Regions from separate parts of the Homo sapiens genome. Here regions 1, 2, 3, 4, 6 and 7 are each linked to region 5. The links are contacts of gene promoters, found by promoter capture Hi-C in blood cells and fetal thymus (Javierre and others, 2016). All regions are on one chromosome and are shown on one strand. The core of a region is centred on a gene start or on the middle of the fragment in contact, and the rest is flanking DNA. Distances in the headings are between cores, read along the strand shown.

What was found. Contacts are between HindIII fragments. The CHiCAGO score rates a contact against its expected background, and 5 or more counts as called.
Region 1: a fragment that was not itself captured here is called in contact with the fragment with the promoter of C1orf105 in region 5 in 9 of 17 cell types (naive B cells, total B cells, total CD4 T cells and 6 more); the score reaches 8.7 in naive B cells.
Region 2: a contact is called between a fragment that was not itself captured here and the fragment with the promoter of C1orf105 in region 5, in 1 of 17 cell types (erythroblasts). The highest score is 8.2, in erythroblasts.
Region 3: a fragment that was not itself captured here is called in contact with the fragment with the promoter of C1orf105 in region 5 in 10 of 17 cell types (activated CD4 T cells, naive CD4 T cells, non-activated CD4 T cells and 7 more); the score reaches 11.2 in activated CD4 T cells.
Region 4: a fragment that was not itself captured here is called in contact with the fragment with the promoter of C1orf105 in region 5 in 9 of 17 cell types (naive CD4 T cells, total B cells, activated CD4 T cells and 6 more); the score reaches 9.4 in naive CD4 T cells.
Region 6: a contact is called between a fragment that was not itself captured here and the fragment with the promoter of C1orf105 in region 5, in 3 of 17 cell types (M1 macrophages, non-activated CD4 T cells and total B cells). The highest score is 6.8, in M1 macrophages.
Region 7: a fragment that was not itself captured here is called in contact with the fragment with the promoter of C1orf105 in region 5 in 4 of 17 cell types (erythroblasts, megakaryocytes, naive CD4 T cells and 1 more); the score reaches 10.2 in erythroblasts.

The regions. Positions count from the first base shown.
Region 1 is chr1:172,124,117-172,127,119 of GRCh38, reverse strand. All of the region lies in intron 13 of DNM3 (dynamin 3), which reads right to left. Among named protein-coding and RNA genes, the nearest start is that of MIR3120, 13 kb to the left of the region's middle. The HindIII fragment of the contact is 461 bases long and covers 1,514-1,974 here.
Region 2 is chr1:172,729,627-172,732,326 of GRCh38, reverse strand. No RefSeq gene overlaps it. Among named protein-coding and RNA genes, the nearest start is that of FASLG, 72 kb to the right of the region's middle. The HindIII fragment of the contact is 2,306 bases long and covers 213-2,518 here.
Region 3 is chr1:172,083,781-172,086,723 of GRCh38, reverse strand. All of the region lies in intron 12 of DNM3 (dynamin 3), which reads right to left. Among named protein-coding and RNA genes, the nearest start is that of MIR3120, 54 kb to the left of the region's middle. The HindIII fragment of the contact is 8,924 bases long and covers 1-2,943 here.
Region 4 is chr1:172,101,336-172,104,035 of GRCh38, reverse strand. All of the region lies in intron 13 of DNM3 (dynamin 3), which reads right to left. Among named protein-coding and RNA genes, the nearest start is that of MIR3120, 36 kb to the left of the region's middle. The HindIII fragment of the contact is 5,224 bases long and covers 1-2,700 here.
Region 5 is chr1:172,419,365-172,422,064 of GRCh38, reverse strand. C1orf105 (chromosome 1 open reading frame 105) reads right to left here and starts at 1,380. Exons shown (of 7, transcript NM_139240.4): 1 at 1,159-1,380. The coding sequence starts at 1,179. All of the region lies in intron 1 of LOC102724528 (a long non-coding RNA gene), which reads left to right. The HindIII fragment of the contact is 10,347 bases long and covers 1-2,700 here.
Region 6 is chr1:172,146,715-172,149,414 of GRCh38, reverse strand. All of the region lies in intron 14 of DNM3 (dynamin 3), which reads right to left. Among named protein-coding and RNA genes, the nearest start is that of DNM3OS, 3.2 kb to the right of the region's middle. The HindIII fragment of the contact is 3,683 bases long and covers 1-2,700 here.
Region 7 is chr1:172,712,989-172,715,921 of GRCh38, reverse strand. No RefSeq gene overlaps it. Among named protein-coding and RNA genes, the nearest start is that of FASLG, 55 kb to the right of the region's middle. The HindIII fragment of the contact is 611 bases long and covers 1,229-1,839 here.

The DNA.
Region 1 (3,003 bases), core at 495-2,994, 300 kb after region 5:
GAAGGGAGGCTTGAAGGTAGTGATATTGAGGCAACCAGTAGTTGAGTGAGAGTGGGTACAACTAGAATTCATTTTCTTAAATGGCTGAAAGCTGAGAACAAAGAACAAACTTTCAGGGACACAATCAGCGTAATTGTGTTCTCTTTTCCAGCAGCACTTTGCACACGTGATGTAGAAAATAAGATGATAAATGGGAATTGATCCAGGGTTCTGAGTTTCTGAATCCGGGTGACCTAAGTACAGAAGTGTAACGATGTTGAAGGTTTTAGGCAAGAGAGTAATTCAGGTGATCATCCATTCAATCTAGGTCAAGCAGAGAAATAAGGTCAGGAGGTGCCACTGGAGAGGTAGAAAATGAGAAGATAAAAGGAATAAGAGTCCAATGAAGTCAAAAAAAAAAAGCAGGTACCGTGTAAACGAAGACAAGAATGGAGTTTTCAGAGTTTAAGCTGATGTGATGCTAAATAAATTGCCTGATCTTACTGGCACCATTAGATTCATTCCTCAAAGATGCACCACTATTTCTAGAAGCATTTAATGTAGCTGAAAAGGATATTTATTAAACATCATTTAGTCCAGTGGATTTAGTCAACTGAGCTACAGGACAATTATTTTGCTAATTTTAATTTAAAAATTTAAAAATTTTACTAATAACAGTTAAAATTTTCAAAGAATGGACATACAAATAATTAGAATATATTTAAGATTATCCCTATGACATTATATCACTTGCAATGCAATATGCTTTCTAATTTGAAGGGAAAAAGAAGATTACAGCTGCCATGTTGTGAAGAAACATGACCCACATCTCTTACCAGTTACCCATGGAAGTGAGTTCAGCACTGGATGTTGTCAGCAATTAAGCTGCCATCATAAAAAGGTTAAGAAGCAGTAGTCCAATCCCAGCCCTTTCTTTTACAATAAAGGAAGCACATTTTTCACAAATGGACTTGTTTTTCTGATAACAATCAGCTCAAAATAGGATTTTAGAAAGAACAATTCCTAATGTACTTTTCACTAAGGAATTGAGGGAAAGAAGCTGCAAAATCAAAGTAAAACAGTGGAATGAGATAAGAAAAGGCAGACATTCAGGAAAAATGGTCAGACCACAAGGAGTAAGACCAATAAGGGGAAATTAATAAAAAGAAAAGAAAAAGGAAAGTAAGTGGGAACAGAAGTCAAAGACTAAATAAAATTTGAAAAGAATGCCAAGACAAATAGGATTAGTGGTAGAAGCCCTTCACAGAGAAAGAGAAAATATAAAATGTTAATTTTATATTCAAATTTAAAACTGCCAAAATAAATCTATTAATGTCCACTACAACAGCCACTTACATCTTCTTAGTATTTGAATATCAAATTCTGTTTTGAGTATTCGAGTAAACAAGAACAAGCAAACCCATAATTACATGACTAGAAAGGACCTTGAGAGCTAAAAGGGCATGTTCTCATTTGTTCAGCAGGAGACAAACTGTTTTTTTTAAATTTATTGCCCATAAATATCACCCAAGCTTCTTTTGCCAAATAGGAAAACTTTGAAAGCAACTGCAAGACCAGCAATGGGAAGAGTGGAACAGCCCAGCCTCTTCTCTTGGTGATTAGCCTACCCTAAGAGAATATGTGTTCTGTTAGTTTCCTCCATGCTATGAGAAAACAGATTTTGTCAAGGTCAGCAAAACCTGTATGTTACGGGTAAGTTCAGACCCCAACATCTGGCTGACATACTGGATCATAAAATCAATACAGAGACAAGGAATAAAATCATGGGAAGACAAAAGTACATGTGGAAGACTTCTAGTGTGGCCAAGGTCTTGAACCCTGTGAGCAGGGGGTTTGACCTTGATCTCACTTATGGTCGACCATGCAAGTTTTTTTCAGCTATGCAGCTGTCTTTTTTTTTAACTGCTGCAGCCTAGATAAAGGTTATAATCCATGCACCGTTAGATAGTTTGATCTTGGTAGATTACAAAAGCTTATAACTAGGCTTTCTCAGTAGATAAGCAGCTGCTTCTATAAAGGTAGTTCACATACCTTGGAGCCTACCTGGCCAAATGCTGGGGAGCTGCATGGGCTCCTCGAAGGCAATGGACAGTCCAGTCACCCAGTTGGTTAGGAAAGATCTACCTTTGCGAGCACAGGCATCCTCAGGATACAGGTTACTTGTCCTTGAATTTGGCTAGCAGACTCGTTTCTAAGGCATGCCTGAGACAGGGATTTAACTATAGGGAAAAGAGTCTTCCCATTTACAGGCCTGGCAGGCCTCGAGAGGTGAACTAGATTTCCTAATTTTATACTATAAGGTAGCTGAGGTCTGTACATACCACAATGCACTCTATAGGTTCTAGTATTAACCTGTCAGAGCCAGGCCTAGGAAGGAAGGGTTAGATCAGCTGCCATCAGTGCCATTCCGTGCTCTGGGCCAGGGCAAGAAGGGAACTGTGGAGAGCTAACCTTAACTGGTGTGGCTTATTTACAGACTTAAGGGTCTCTCCCACCCCACTCACTCTTCTCCTAAGCACATGCTTTCCAGCTGGCTCTGGATTAATGAGATAGAGGGGAGAATGTCTCCTCAGGAAGCCTAGGCTTCTTAGACCAGTAAATTTTGTAACAGGAGGCAGGAGGAGAAATGCAAAGGAAAAAGGAAAGTAAAAATTAGGAGGTTTTGAATATGCTGTATGGAAAAGGAAGGCAACTAAAAAATATCCTGGTGGGTAACTGGAGCTGTGGTCCCTGCAAATTCCTGAATTTTGCAATAGACGGCCATGTTTCAAGTGTCCTTCTCCAAGAGTATGCACATAGATGGCTTTCCCCCTTGACGGTAAATGCATGGTGGCAAAGCTAACTTCTTAAAAACACCTTTGGGAATGTAATTCTTGAACTTTTGTATCTAGGAACTTCACAGTAGGAGAGGATTCATATTCACATTGAGGAGGGGGCTCACAAAATTCCCATGTCTAGTTTGTTGATATTTTATTATTAATGTATATTATTTCATTTGATCAT
Region 2 (2,700 bases), core at 116-2,615, 310 kb before region 5:
ATCTTTGTGAATCTGGGTTAGGCAAACGTGGCATACTATATATAACCCATTTTCTTTATACAGTCAAATGTTCACCAACACTTAGGTTAATTCCATGACTTTGCTGTTGTGAATATGTTCATCAGAAATATTGGCTCATAGTTTTTTTTTTTTTTTTCAATGTCATTGCCTGATTTTGGTATCAGGGTGATACTGGTTTCATAGAACAAGCTTGGGAGGAATAGCTCCCCCTTAATGGTGTGAAAAAACTACGGTAAGATTGGTATCAGCTCTTCTTCGCACATCTGGTAAAATTTGTTTTTAAATCTGTCTGGTCCTGGGCTTTTGTTGTTTGTTGAAAGATTTTTTTTTTTTTTTTTTTTTTTTGAGACGGCGTCTCACTCTGTTGCCCAGGCTGGAGTGCAGCGGTGCGATCTCGGCTCACTGCAAGTTCCGCCTCCCGAGTCCACGCCATTCTCCTGCCTCAGCCTCCCGAGTAGCTGGGACTACAGGCGCCCGCCACCATGCCTGGCTAATTTTTTTTTTTTTTTTTTTTTTTTTTTTTTTGTATTTTTAGTAGAGACTGAGTTTCACCGTGTTAGCTGGGAGAAAGATTTTTCTTTATTACTGATTCAATTTCATTACTTGTTATTGGTCTGTTTAGGATTTCTATTTCTTCCTGGTTCAAACGTGGAAGGTTGCATGTTTCCAGGAATTTATCCATTTCTTCCAGGTTTTCTAGGGTGTACACATAGGGATGTTGATAATTCTGGAGTTGTTTTGTTTTGTTTTCTGACAAAGTTTCACTCTCAATGCCCAGGCTAGAGTGCAATGGCACAGTCTTGGCTCACTATGACCTCCCTCTCCTGGGTTCAAGCGATTCTCCTGCCTCAGCCTCCAAAGTAGCTGGGACTACAGGCACCCGTCACCATGCCCAGCCAATTTTTAAATTATTATTATTTTTAGTAAAGACGGGGTTTCAACATGTTGGCCAGGCTGATCTTGAACTCCTGACCTCAGGTGTTCCGCCCGCCTCCCCCTCCCAAAGTGTTGGGATTACAGGCATGAGCCACTGCACCGGGCCAGTTCTGGAGATCTTTTGTATTTCTGTGGTATCAGTTGTAATGTTGTCACCTTTACCATTTGTGATTGTGCTTACATGATTCTTTTTTCTTGCTTAAACTAGCTAGTGATCTACCTGTTTTATTTATCCTTTCAAAGAATCAATTTTTCATTTTGTTGATTCTTTGTAATTTTTTTTTGTCTGAATCTCATTTAGTTCTGATTTGATCTTTGTTATTTCTTTTCTTCTGCTAGCTTTGGGTTTGGATTGCTCTTGCTTTTCTAGTCCCTTGAAGTGCAAAGTTAGGCTGCTAATTTTAGATTTTTCTATCTTTTTTATGTAGGTATATAATGCTATACATTTTCCCTTTAGTACTACTTTTGCTGTTTCCCAGAGGTTTTGGTATCTTGTGCCTCTATATTATTTGTTTCAAAGAAAATTTGATTTTGGCCTTAATTTTGTTTACCCAAAAGTCATTCAGGAGCAAGTTGTTTAGTTCCTATGTACTTGTGTAAGTTTCAGGGTTCCTGTTGGCATTGATTTCTAATTTTATTTCCTTGTGGTCCAAGAAGACATTTGATATGATTTAAATTTTTTCGAAGTTGTAGAGACTTGTTTTGTGGCCAAGCATATGGTCAGTTTTGGAGAATGTTTCATGTGCAGGTGAGAAAACTGTATATTCTGTGGTTGTTGGGTAGGATGTTCTGTAAATGTCTATTAGGTCCATTTGGTCTAGAGTTCAGTTTAAGTCCAGAGTTTGTTGACTTTCTACCTCCATGACTTCTCTAGTTATGTCAGGGGAGTGCTGAAGTCCCTGACTACTACTGTATTGCTGTCCATTTCTTCTCTTAGGTCTGGCAGTATTTGTTTTATGAATCTGCATGCCCTGGTGTTGGGTACACATATATTTAGGATGGTTAAATCTGCTTGTTGTATTGAACCCTTTATAATTACATAATACCCTTTTTAGTCTTTTTAAAAAATTGTGTTGGTTTAAAGTTTGTTTTATCTGATACAATAAGGATGGCTACTCCTATTTGCTTTTGTTTTACATTTTCATGGTACATGTTTTCCATCCCTTTACTTTGAGTCCGTAGGTGCTTTAACCATTAAGTCGTTCTCTTGTAGGCAAAAGATGATTGGGTCTTGGTTCTTTTAATCCAGTTTTCCTAGATCTATAGTATATATATTTTATGTGGAGCATTTTGGCCATTTACTTTTAAAGTTAATATTCAATGTGTAGTTTTGTTTCTGTCATAGCATTGTTAGCTAGTTGCCTTGGGTCTCAATTGTACAATTGCTTTATAGGGTCTGTGGGCTTTCTTTTACATGTGCTTTTATGATGGCAAGTATTGTCCTTTTGTTTTCATATTTATGACTAATTTGATCATTTCTTGTAGGGTCAGTCTAGTGGTGATTAATTCCCTTATCATTTGCTTGTCTGGAAAAGTCTATTTCTCCTTCATTTATGAAGCTTAGTTTGGCAGGATATAAAATTCTTGGCTAGCATTTTCTTTTCTTTAAAGAAGTGAAAAATAGGCCCACTTTTCTCTTCTAGCTTGTAAGGCATCTGCTGAGAAGTCTGCTGTTAGTCTGATGGAATTTATTTTATCAGTGATTTGACATTTCTCTCTAGCTCCCTTTAATATTTATTCTGT
Region 3 (2,943 bases), core at 115-2,614, 340 kb after region 5:
AGCTACCACCATAGGTCACCACTAAGCTGTCAATAAAGTAGGACCCACAGTGAAGGTCCCAGAGCCATCAGCCGGAGTCACTATACTGTAGGGCTCTGCCGTCCAATGCAGTAGCTGGTAGCCAGATTAAAACTTTAATTAGATTGAATTAAATTAAAAATTTATTGCCTTCATTGCACTACCCACATTTCAACTGCTCAATAGCCACATACAGCTAGTGGCTTCTGTATTGAACAGCACAGATTATACAATAGTTCCATCATCTCAGAAAGTTCTATTGTGCAATGGTGCTACAGAGTAAAGCAATTTTAGACTGTTCTTTTATATTATCCAAGAAAGATTATGAACACTTCACAAGAGTCCCAAGAGTGTAACTTATCACAGGTTACACTGTGATAGTCCAGGCTCCGTCCAATCAGACTGAAGCCAAAGGGAGAAGAAACAATGTCCGTTTCTCCTCCAGGATCTTTAATGAAGGCTCAGGCTATTATGCAAGAAAATCTTACAGAACTTGGGAGTCTGCAAAAGAAGAATCACTTACCTCCTAAGATTCATGTTAAGGATGAAGATGAAGTTTAAAATAACATATTTGAGGATGAAAGAGAAAACTGGAAGTCTACTTATTTTTAAAATGGTGCTTGGAACATTGGAATTTATAACTTATTTGAACAGGATATGTGAATGGTATCCTTTCAAGTTGCTCAATCCTGTATTTCTACTTGACAACAATCTCAGTAAGCAACCAAGCATTTAATTCCTAAATTTGCATATAAGTCAAAAAAAGGATCTTTTTATACTCCAATACCTAAGTTTTGATTCCACAAGAGAGAGAACATTCTCATGTAAGATTAGGAACTAGAAACATTATTACAATAGAATATAATTATGCATTAGGGAAAAATAAACTAAGAATGTAAAGGGAAAGACTAAGATTGCTCTGGAATTTAGTGGCAAGGTTGAAATGCACTGCCTTCAGTAAAACGGCAATAGAGGCATTCCAGAGGATCAGGAAAAAGATATAACAAATCTTAAGACCCATAGAATTTTCATGGTGCTCAAATAACAAGAACTGAAATCTGCACACTGTATCATTTCAACTGTGAGAAAACAGGTGTTGAGACCTACTGAGCAGATTGAAAAACAAACAGACCTTGGTCTGCTGCTTGCGGTGTATAGAGATATCACTCTAACGGCACATATCTATAGTCCCTCTTTCTCTTTAACCATTGGACTGCATAAATCCTAGTAACTCAGAAAGCAAATTGTGTCATGGAACAAATGAAGAAGAGCAGAGGAGTTTGAAATTTCACTTCCCAAGGCATTCCACTAACAAGATTGCCTTTTTGTTCAAAAGAGGATTACTGAGGACGAGGGGAAGTGAATGAAGGAACAATTGGGCCAGTTCTTATTTTCTTAAATAGCAAAAACTAGCTATATTATGTAAAAATATATGTAATTTAGGGTTTTTTTTTTTCTAAAGCAGAGAATGACAAATTAAAACCCTTAAGTCACAAAGAAATTTGACGTTTTCTTCTGAAATGCTGAACTTTCAGGCTCAGAAACTATATTATAGTTGAAAAAACATTTAGAAGCCAGGAAATTCCAAAGCAAGCCTAGAGCAGTGCTTATTTGGACACATTACACACGGTACATATTTTACAGGCCATGTCTAACAAATAACTAGAAGATGGAAAAAAAGTGTCACATATTAAACATGACAGTATAAATTCTATAACAGAAAGAAGAATTTTGAGATGTCCTGAATGCTACTCTGAAAGTAAATATTTTATTAATCCAATTTTAGCAATTCATTTTCATTTTTTAAAAAATTAGAACAAAAAGTCATCCAAGTTGAAAAAAATTACATGTGTAAAGTACTATGTACATCACCATCCTATAAATCTGGGAGGCAGTTCCTTCCCTTTTGGCAACTCTCTAAAAATCTCATGAAACAAATGCTTGTTTTCTTCAACCCCAGACCTTAATTTTCTGTCTTTGGAACTTAAAAATACTTACATAATTGTCTTCAAATATGGCTTGACTTTTCTTCCTTGATGGAAACAGCATTCTTGCCAACTTTAAAATTTATAGCTACAACCATATTTTTTTAATTTTTAAAAGCACAAAAAATACCACAACCCCTCAAAGTGATTTTGAAATGAACATTTCTTCATCTTCATAATCACTCCACGTCACCCCATGTCAATTCCAAGTCGACATACAAATGGAAAGGACATTTATCTCTGAGTCTTGGGGCAAAATATCACATTTAGAGATAATGATATTAGCAGCTAAAAAATATTCCAGTGACAATCATACTTAAGTCATTATAACTACATCATAAAGTAAAATGGTACATCTAGTAATCAAATGTGAGTGTATGTGTGTGTATGTGTGCACACGTGCATGTATGTGGAGAGAGTGAGAGACAGGGAGGATCTCTCACATTTATAGACTACACCATAGTTTTTTTTAAAGGATTTCCACATAACTTGATTAATTTGATCTTCTGACAATCCTGAAAGGTATACAAGACAAGGATTATTATTCCATTTGATACATCAGTAAACAGATAGAGAAAGGCTGAGCACCTTGCCAAAACCCAAAGCTCATCAGTGGCATATCCTGGAAAAACAACCTGGATTGTTGACTCCCAGATCAGTCCTTTAAAGAAGGTTTAAGTGTGCAATTTAAATTAGATGAGAAATGTGTAGAGTTGCTGGCTTTCTAAAGCAGTTTTACCTATGCTTCTTTTTTTCTCCCCAATATCATAAAGATTCATAGTCTATCTCACTGCTGGAAAAATAGGACCAGACACCTGGACCAGAAAAATAGGACCAGACACAGAGAGACTACGTCAAAAGATTGTGTTTGAAAGTCTTAAATTTGAAAAATCACCTGCCCTTGGAAACCTATAAATCAATATAATCAATATAAAACCAT
Region 4 (2,700 bases), core at 53-2,552, 320 kb after region 5:
AAATAGGTATAAGGCTGGTCTGTAACTTTTTTTTTGAGACGGAGTCTCGCTCTGTCACCCAGACTGAAGTGCAGTGGCACGATCTGGGCTCACTGCAACCTCCAACTCCCTGGTTCAAGTGATTCTCCTGCCTCAGCCTCCTGAGTAGCTGAAATTACAGGCATGCACCACCACGCCCAGCTAATTTTTGTATTTTTAGTAGAGATGGGGTTTCACTATGTTGGCCAGGATGGTCTCGATCTCCTGACCTCGTGATCCACCCTCCTTGGCACCCCAAAGTGCTGGGATTACAGGCGTGAGCCGCCGCGCCTGGCCTCTGTAACTTTCAATAAGTAAAATGCAAATCACAACAACAATATATTATTATTTCTGTTAGATTATCAAAAATTATATAAAATATAATTATCCAGTACTGGGGATTGAGGTACTTACATATATAGTTGTTGGGTCTATGAACTGGTTCAGGTGTTTTGGAAAAACTGGAAACAGCAGAAATACCTATCCTTAGGGAAATGTGAATTAAGTATGGCACATCCATACTGTAGAACACTATAATATTATGCCACAAAGAAGTTTTGTCATTTTATGTCTGCGAATTTACATGGAAAAATCCCTAAGACATATCATTAAATGAATAAAGTGAGGTCAACTTCACATATTTACTCAGCAGCTACCATACACCAGCTTTTAGACATTGTTAGGGATACATTAATAAGCAAAAGAGACAAAAATCCTTGCCTTGGTAGAGTTTACAATTTTAGAACAAAACATGTACAATATTTGTCTATTTTTATTTTTTTAAATCACAGTGTCTTTGTGTGTGGGTGGGTGTGTACCCATGTGCTTGTGTGTGTATATATGTGTATATATACTCCAAAATGATAACAGTGGTGGTAGCTATGGAGGTGAGTGGGATTGGGTGGGGGTCAAGGGTGTATTTATTTTATCTGCATTATTCAACTTTTTCACAGTAAAAATGTGTTCATATATTTATTGTTTAACTTGAAAATTATAGATTCAAAATTATGTACTTTGGATACAAGTAACAAATGGATACTTTATTGGCTCCATGGATACTTTGTGCTAAATAAGCTATACAGTGGTTAATAAAATAATATCTTTGGTGAGAAACATTAACATTTTTAAATGTTATCAAAATTCCAAGGAATTGGAATAATACAGGCATTTGCTTACTTGGAATCAAACACACCACACTTGTAAAACAGAGAGCATCAAAGAGGATAAAAGAGACAGAGGGAGGAAAAGAGGGAAGCAGGGAGGGAGAGAGAGGAGCTATGGGGCAGCCGGAGGGAGGCAGGAGGAGAGATGCCTTTGTTTCACCAGTTGTTCTTCCTCTGGTGAAACAAGACCATGCCTCTACTGTCCCAAAGTAAAAACATAGCAGAAAACCTAGATTCTGCCTATTGAAGGGGTATTTCAAAGTAATTTTGAGTAGATAAGATAATCTCTTCACTGGTTTTTATGCTCTAAACCCTCCATTAAGATGCAACTTGGCTGTAAAAATATGGAAAGAACATCTGCTTATTTTCTGGGGAAAAAACATAAGTGGCATACATTAAATACTATTCCAAATAAAACTCTAGATCTCAAAGACGCAGAACAAATTAACAGGCTGTATATTTGACAAAGTGTGGTTTTCATAAACTCTAATCTCTATTTTATTATAATAAAATAATGATTATTATATTTTACAAGCTATTGACTGGCCCCTTTGGAGATATTTTTATAGAATTAAAAAACAAAATGGCAACAAATTCAAATAGCCATTGTAGTTTTTTGGTTCATCAGATTAATTTCTATAAAGCCGAGCTCATTCTTTTCAGATCTAATGGCTTTATTTTAAGAAAAATTTTAAGTGGCCGGGCGTGGTGGCTCACACCTGTAATCCCAGCACTTTGAGAGGCCGAGGTGGGTAGATCACCTGAGGTAAGAGTTCAAGACCAGCCTGGCCAACATGGTGAAACCCCGTCTCTACTAAAAATACAAAAATTAGCCAGGCGTGGTGGCACACATCTGTAATTCCAGCTGCCCAGGAGGCTGAGGCAGGAGAATTGCTTGAACCTGGGAGGCAGAGATTGCGGTGAGCCGATATCACACCATTGCACTCCAGCCTGGGCAACAGAGAAAAACTGTCTCAAAAAAAAAAATTAAGTAATAAAAAAAGCAAATTAATGTAAATGATGAGACTATAAATAATTGAGACTACAAAATGAGATGCTTGATGAAATTTACAAACTATTAGAACTGTGGTTAAACACAGTGATTAGAACTGTGGTTAAACATGGTGATTAAGATTTGAATCCTGGTGCTATCATTTATGATCTGTGTGACTGGGCAAGTTACTTTGCCTCTCCATGCCTCAGTTTTCCCATCTGTAAAACTGAGATAATAGGGGTACCTACCTCATAGAGTTGTTGAGAGGAATTAATGAGCTAATGTGTGTAAAACACCCAACACCATACCTAAGTACCTAACTAGTATTATCACATTTAATACAAAAACCTTATGAAACAGTTACTATTATTATCAGCTTATTACAGATTAGAAAACTGAGGTACAGTAAGGTTTAATTAATTTGCTCATAGTGACACAGTGACTCTACTGTGTCAGCTCTGAAGAACCAAGGCACTATGTTGCTTCTCAACCTAACATAGTCAGTAGAATTATTTTTAAAAGGAA
Region 5 (2,700 bases), core at 131-2,630:
TTGTTGTGGCCCAGACAGGCTTTCAAGTTTATTTAGGACCTCAGAGCACTTTAGCCCATGGTGGTGGAGGTAGTCAAAACTCAGTTTCTGAAACCTGGGATGGGCAATTCTCCTCTGGCTAAGGGTGGTCTAAATGGTCCCTCCATTGGCAACAGCTAAGTTCTGCCCCGTATTGGCAGCACTGAATTCTAGAGTCCCACAATCGCTGTGCCCTCCCTCCAAGTGCACAGATTCTCTCTCCACACTATGTGGCTGCTGCCAGGGGATGGGGGAGGGGTGGTGTCAGCAATTCAAGATTGTCTTTCTTATCTTCCTCAGTGCTTCTTTCAACAATACGAAGTTAAAACCAGGTACTGTGATCACTTTGTGATCACTGATTTTTGGTTCTTATGAAGGTGCTTTTTTGTGTAGATAGTTGTTAAATTTGATGTTCGTGCATGGAGAACAATCAGTGAAGGCTTCTGTTTGGCCATCTTGCTCTGCGTCCTCCCCAACTTAGGATTTTTTTACTTTATCATGGGTTCATCAGGGTATTGCATGCATTTTTGACTTACAATATTTTCAACTTGTGGTGGTTTATTGAGATGTAACCCTATCATAAGTCAAGGAGCACCTGTACTATGGTAATAGAGACAGCTAGTATATCCCTTTAAATAGGAAACATACAGTGTCATAAGCTCAATGTGATTTATTCAGATTTAGACCCTAGTAATTATAAAAGTCTATACAAGTTTTTTTTTCTTTCTCAGCAATCTTAACTTCCTGTGACTGAGATTCATTGTTTTAAAGTGCATTCACAGTTGAGAAGGTTTACTTCAGAATCTCAGGGAACTGCACTAAAGAATCTGGTATCAATTTTCTGAGGATTTAAAAAAATCATACTTAAATGCTGAGTTATAAAAGATGTTGGCAAGTACAACATTTTTTCCAAACTATACGATAAAGAGCATTGAAATTTATCATGCCCCAAACCCATTAAAATTATCTTCACCTGTAACTGAACATCAGCTGTTATTTCCTTACCTTCTTTTGGCTTTCAACTTCTAGGATGTCTGTTGAAACACCCCTCAATGTTTATGTGGCCTCCAAGGCATACAAACATTTACCAGGGTAACCCCATAAGGAAAGAATTGGAAGTTTCATTTATTTTTTTCCTACCTTTAGTTCTCTTTTTTCCATCTTTCAGATCTTTAGATGTTCTGAGTTTTTCTAGCTGGAGACTGGGGAAACCTAGCTCCCCTCACTGTGGCCAGTGGAAGACTGCTGTGGAGAACCTGAATCCAAAGTGTTTTTTGTTAGGAGACGAAGTAAACAGGCCAGTTTACAGTTTCAATACCAGTATGCCTTTTTCTCTACCAACATCTGTGTGATTTACATCTTGAATCATATAATTCCATTCAGAATGAAAAGCTCAGTTTCTGATTGGCTGAAATGAGTTCTAGTATTCCTTTCTTTGTTAGAAGTCAAAATCACAATGTTCTGGAACATTAGCATGTGTTGGGTAAAGTTGATAACAGTATACTAAAACTCAGATAGCTGCTTCAGTACTGAAGTCAGAACAGTTCTCCCTGGAAAGACAACCAAACTTTTCTCTTATTGTAGCACTACATTGTAATTGCTTATTTAGCTATTTTGTAAGCTACTTTTATTCTGTTACTTCTCTGGTATTCCCAGGGTCCAGGACATTATCATGAATTCAAGAAATGTTTGATGCATAAATAAAGGAATGAAAATATATAAGGAATATTATGTTTACTAAAGGCATAATAGTTTGGCTCTTCCTGACTATCCTGAGTTATGATCAACTCTGAAAAAGGGAGTAATTTTTCAAGTCTATTAAACATAGCAGGGTGGAGGTGGAGGTAAGAAGAGTTGGGGAAAGGTATATTATGAAACATAGAAATACTATTTACTAAATACATATTAACAAATCTTAGCATAATTTAATTTTACTCCAGGCTGCCCCCCATCCCTTTCCCCTGCCCTCTTTTTTCTTGCCTATAGAATGTAAGGAAGGGAACACACTTCTTTGTTAAGGAAAACTGAGTAAGGTTGTCATTTCATTCTGTTATGACTGGAGTTTTTCCTTCTCATCATTCATCAGGTCAATTTAAGTTTTATACATCTAAACTGTGTAACACTGCATATAAAAATAAGTCCATGTTTAAGACAAAGTGGAAAAGTACCAAACACTTTTAAAAAATGAATTGAAGAAAACCTTCTCTTTGACAACTTCGGTTTTCATTTGGGGAGGTGGTATGAAATCATCTAGGTACATTTTTGTCTATTGGGATGAAGAATGCTATCCACTAAGAATATTGATTTAAAAATCAAATGCCTGGACTGGAGGGGAAGGAAAGGACAAAAGACTGCATGCTATGTGCTATTTTACATCAAGTCACCTCCTTCCTGCTATACATGAGCTTCAGTTGATGCCTTGGTTTGGAGCCTTTGAACTTTCTTAGTTATCACTGATTTTAAATGGTAGTCACTGGACCGGGGATACAATTAAAATAATGTAACATGCCATATGAACATTTTAAACCAAGAAACTGATTTTTCATTTTTGAGTGGAGAACTCAGTCCTTAAAAAAATTTGTGGTCCGAAGAAACAGCATTACTAATGAGGACTCTCCCTTTTACAACTGGGGGTTCCTGCCCACATCTTCCAAATACCTCCTTTGCCAGGGCTTGCCTAGG
Region 6 (2,700 bases), core at 91-2,590, 270 kb after region 5:
ATAAATCATATATTTACTTTCTTGCGACTGGTATCCAATAGAGCTAGAGTTTTTAAGGTTTGTCTGCTGGATGTATTATGCTACTGAAATATAAAAATGGCTGCTGTGCACGCCAGTGGTTAGTAAAATTCAAAGACGTAACATTATCTTTCTCAATTGATTTGAGGAAAGAATGTTCATAAAATATATACTGCTTTTGGTTAGGAGCTTATTTCTAAATAAACAGACTCAGCAATGGAAATTTTAGAGACGGGCAAAAACAAAACATGCGTCCGTAAATGTACGTTTTAAAATCAATTCTCTCACAATCTTTGTCTTTTGCAAACTTTCTGAAGACTGTAAAATCAGTTGCATTAAGTTTATGATTTATAGCTTTCTGATTTAACTTCTTTTTCAGTTGTTGAAGGAAAATCTCTTACTCCTCTGAAATATTTCTCCTTTATTTTACAGGCTGATGTTGCATCTCTGCCTAAGAAGGCACTTCACTGCAGTGATTTGAGGGAAGCCATTTGTTTGTGATTCAGGAAAGGGAAGAAAAGTGGAATGCTCTGCTACAACATATCTATTCCTTTGAGCCCTAACAAAATAGGAAATGCAGGAGATTAGGGGACTGCATTGCCTCCAATTAAAAAAAAAAGTGCTAATCTACACAACATAAAGCCAAACTAAGTGGGGCTATCTTCTCTAATTTGCAATGAACTAAGGTCAGCTAGATTTTTATCTTAGATACAAACTGGGAAGGAGAAAACAACAAGAAAGGAAACACTACAACTTGGTTAGATCCTGCTTTTCACACAAGATTATATCACTGGTAGCTGCACAGGATGCTTCCAGAACATTAGAAGGCCAAAAATAAGCAAGGAAATATGGTTGGTTCAATGTTTACATTTATTTCAAAAAGAATAGTTCAATCTGGTGCGTAGCTGCAGACACATATATAAATATTAAAAGCACACTATGTTTTTTATTTATGATTTTTTTAAGAGAGCTGTAATTCTTAAGTTATTATCATGACGAATATTTGACCAGAAACCACATGCATACCATATAGCTCTTTACTCATTCTTTTAACAGTTTACTAAATGGACTACCATCAGCCAGTCAAAAAAAAAAAAAATACAAATATATTGTTCCTGCCTTCAATTAGCTTATATTTTATCTAGGAAAAAAAAGTTTAAATACATAAAATAACAGTACAGGTAACGTCTTAGTACAAAACTGTGAAAGCGCAGCAGATAATTAATTGGCATTTTAACAACAGGAAATATAAGCACTATAAGAATTCGGTAGGGGAACAAGTTGTTTCTGTAGGTTGACAATATCCTTCTGAGCACAGAAAAAAACTGAGTTTTTCCATTTGTGGACTCTGATGAAATAATGTTTAAGCTCTCTGAGCTTTAATTTTATCATCAATAAAATGGGGATGATAATAATAGCTACACTATAGGATTATTATAAGAAACAAATACGTTGTACATGAATGGATTTTGTAATCTGTAAAGAAGCTGTAAAATGACCATTGAGAAAGTAGTCAAAGGAATCATGCCAAACAGTTACCATTAGTTTGGGAAGACAGAAAGGGTTAAGAAGTTGGAAGGGATAATGATGATTAAGAAGTTGGAATGGATAATGATGATTAATTTTTTTCTTGACATACCTCTCTATTGTTTGAACTTGTGCACTAATCTTGTAACAAAAAAAACTTAAGGCTATAAAATATTAGCTGAAGTACGCATATCTGGATATCACAAAATAATTGTAAACACTAGTAACCCTGCCCCTTTAGAGGTACACAGAAAGAAGCCTCAGTCCTGGTTTCAATTTGAGAATTTCCAAAGTCATAAAAATGTGCCAAGATTGGGAACAATAACTAACTGAAACAGCGTTTCCTTTTAATAACCCTTTATAATAGAGCAAATTTTGTAGTCACCCAAAACCATCTATTGATTCAATAATCACTTTGGTCAACAACTTTTGAAATAAGCAAATTAAATAACTTTAGTTCCTCAAAGTCAAGGATTTGTCATGTCCAACCTTGCTTTCTAGGGCCCAATACATTTTGGGTATTCAAGTGATAACTTTACAGACGTAAGAAAAGTTATTAAGGCATTTCCAAATCAATGCCAAGGACTTTTCAGAGCAGAATGACCAACTTTTTAAACTGCACTTGGTAACAGATGTGTATTCCTAACTTTTTATGTAAGTGTGAGCTTTTTGAGGGCAGGAGTCAGGTCTTAATCTTTGTATGCCCAGTTGCTGGTATTGTGACTAGCAGGTGAGTAGGCAAGAATAAATATTCGTTGAACTATTTGGAGGCAAGAGCACCCACAAACACTTCAGTTAACTGGAAACTCAAGGAGATGGACATATATTCTAAGGGGAACTCAATTTCTATAGCTGTCTCTGGAGAAAATTCCTTAAAATGTTTCACGAGTCATAATGATTAGTATAAAGTTAAGTCACTTGATGGAAATATTGTAAGATTCTATTTGGTGTAGGTAGTAGAACCATTTGAGGGCATATAGATGTACAGACTAAGGTGAAATCATGGTGCAGTCTGATCAAAACCACCTTTTGTTTGCCTTGACAAAAATTTCCAAGGCATGTCTTATGGACATAAATGAAAGTGGGCAGAAAAAAAGGCTTTCACTTTCTGTGGCAGAAGCAGGTCTACACCTGGAATACTGGCTGACTACTGGT
Region 7 (2,933 bases), core at 285-2,784, 290 kb before region 5:
CTAACCAGTACAGAGAATGGAAGATCACTTTCCATGTTCCAGTCCATAGGGCATCCCCTTGGACCACATTTGAGTCAGAAATATACAACTGTTCTTTCTACCTTTCCTCAACAGCCTTCTCTCCAAAAGTCGGTAAAAATACTTAAACATTATAATCCACTGGACAAAAATCCAGTTGTCCTTGGTTATATTTCAACTCCAGACCAACCCAATCCAGATAAGCAAAGCAGAACTGGCAGTCAAGAGTGTATGGAGGTCATAAGAAAGACACAGAAGCCAGTCCATATGAATTAAGACAGACTCTCATCAGTCCTGCATGGTTAAAACTTGTTCCTATTACATAGTTGATAAATAAAGTAATTTCTCAAAGAAACCTTGGACATTATGAAAAAAGAAGCAACTAGGAGTCCACTTAGCAACTTCTCAGAAGTTATTAAATATGAACAGATACCCACAGTACCACTAGGCTGTGTACACAGAAGGATGAAAGATGATGTTGGTTGACTTCTCCATCTCTTGCAACCTGTTTACAACTGTTAATTCTGTAATTCATGCTTCAAAATACTCTAAACTTTGAAGTGATACTATATTATCTAACCTATAAAATAACAAAATGTTAACAGAGTAACGTAGATTGACTAATTCTTAAGGTAAAGAGTCTGTCCTGAAAAGCATAATAGTGTGTCATTCAGGTGATTGGTAGAAAGGAATTGTCATAATTCTCAAATAGATTATTTTTCCAGGATTTAGGCCTCTTTCCTTTAAATGACAGTGATCCCAAGAAAACCAAGAAAGTGGTTAGTGCCTCAGTTAAATGCTGTATAGCCAGTTTTGAAATTACTTAAATATCAGTAAAAATGCATATGTGAAGAATTGTCTTCAAAAAGAAATCACAGACTTCAAAATCACTAGTATTGTCTTTTTAAATTGTATTCTATTTATTATCAGAGGGAGGTTGATAGTTTACTTCGCTCTCAGAATTTTGCACCTTCAAATAGTGTCATTCTCATCTAATTTTTTTTTACTTTTACATTTACATTTAAGGAATCTTTGTTTCTGATCTTGAGATGTGGAATGAGGCTAGAGAGATGGCCAGATTGTCAGAGATCCTCTTAATGTTGTTTGGTATCTCTGGGGAATTAATAGAAATATTGTGGACTAAAGAGAGCTTAGAAAAGTGCTCTAGATGACTTCTACAGTGAGTACGGCTATTTTGGATACTTAAGCTTCATGAAGTACCTTCATAAAAAGGAAAAAAATGAATTTTAAAGGAGGCTTAGGAAGACAAATCCCAATGCTAAAAGAAAAGGCAATATAATTAAGACTATGCTTTCAAAAGCTGAGGTAAATTATTTGGGGGTTGGTTTTATAGCTCTTTCTCTCTAGAGAATAATATAAAGGTACTTCAATATATAGATTTCTGCCTGTGCTAGCTATCATCCAAGAATGACTGGCAGATTCCCATGGGTAAAAATCTCCCCTAAACAAATTCACATACTCAGGATCAGCAGGAGAGCTTGATTCTGTCCCTTCTTTTCTTACAAGCTGAGGAGGAAAACAAGAGGCCCATGCAAATTAAGTCAGTGTGCAAGCTACCATTTTTTCTTGTTAATCACTGGCTAAAATGAATAAAACACTTAACCTATTATTTGGCCAAATTTCAAAATCCCTGAATTATAGTGCAGTGTTGATATCAGTGGGTGAAAAAGCAGATTTTCTTTCCTGCCTAATTCAGAAGGTGGAAATTAGATACACTTTACCTTAGCAAGAGTCAGCCAAGTTTTTACCTCTTAGCAAGATCAGTGGTTCTCTATGAGCACTGGAACCACTTGGAAAGCTTGTGAAAATGCACAATACTGGGTCCCACAGGGATTTTGATTCAGTGTATTGGGAGGCAGGTCTAGGAAACTACATTAGAAACAAACACCACAGGCGTTCTTCAGTCCACACTTTGAGATACCCTTTTATAGAAACTTTATCACCCCATAGGTATACACAAAGCAGCTACAAATGATCCATGTGAATGATGAAATGATAGTACATTTTTGGCACAAATAAAGATTTCTTTTATTTTTCTTCTCCTCCATCCCCTTGTCTCACTATTACTTTTCTGTCTTCTCACCACCCTTTCTGTCTTCCTGCTTTTACACTGTTTCTTTCACCTCTGTCTTTGCACTGTCAGCTATGAATCATAAAAAAGGAAAATGGAAGCAGAAGAAAAGGCCTCACTTGTCTGGACTTTCTGAGTACCAGACAGTCATTCACTGATGTCCTTAAATTTAAGAAATTTCAGTGAATCAGGTGCTGATGATATAATGACCTTAATATACAAATACATGATTTTTTTATTGCTAAAAGTGTTGAAATCTCCACAAAGCAAAAGATTGGAGAGATAAAAGACAAGGAAATTCTATGTAATCAATTTTATATATTACTTGTTAGCATCTCAGAGAAAGACTTATTGAAAGACTGAAGCTAGAGAATAAGAATACCAATAACAAATTCATTCACTCATTCTTTCATGTATTCAAACATAAAGAATTATATTTCTATCTTCTTTGCCAAGGCATGAGAGAAAAGTGAAATAAGATGTATTTTTCATTGTTGTTAAAAAGTTATTCGATAAATAATTAAAAATCAAGATAACAAAGAAAAGCAAATGGAAGACTGAAAGTGTTTTTACAATATAATGTTAACTTTTGTTCTTGTTATCTAAAACTGAAGGATCTCTGTCATAATTCACAATTATATCTTTACTTAAGTCACTCAATCAATATTGGGTTGACTCTTATCAAGCTCCTGACAAAATTAAGTGAAGATGGGTTATCTTACCCACTTTCATTTCTCAGAGTTATTACTTATCAACTGATGTCCATATATCCCAAGGATCCCATGGATAAAATACAAGGGGTTCATGAACTCAGATGGAAAAA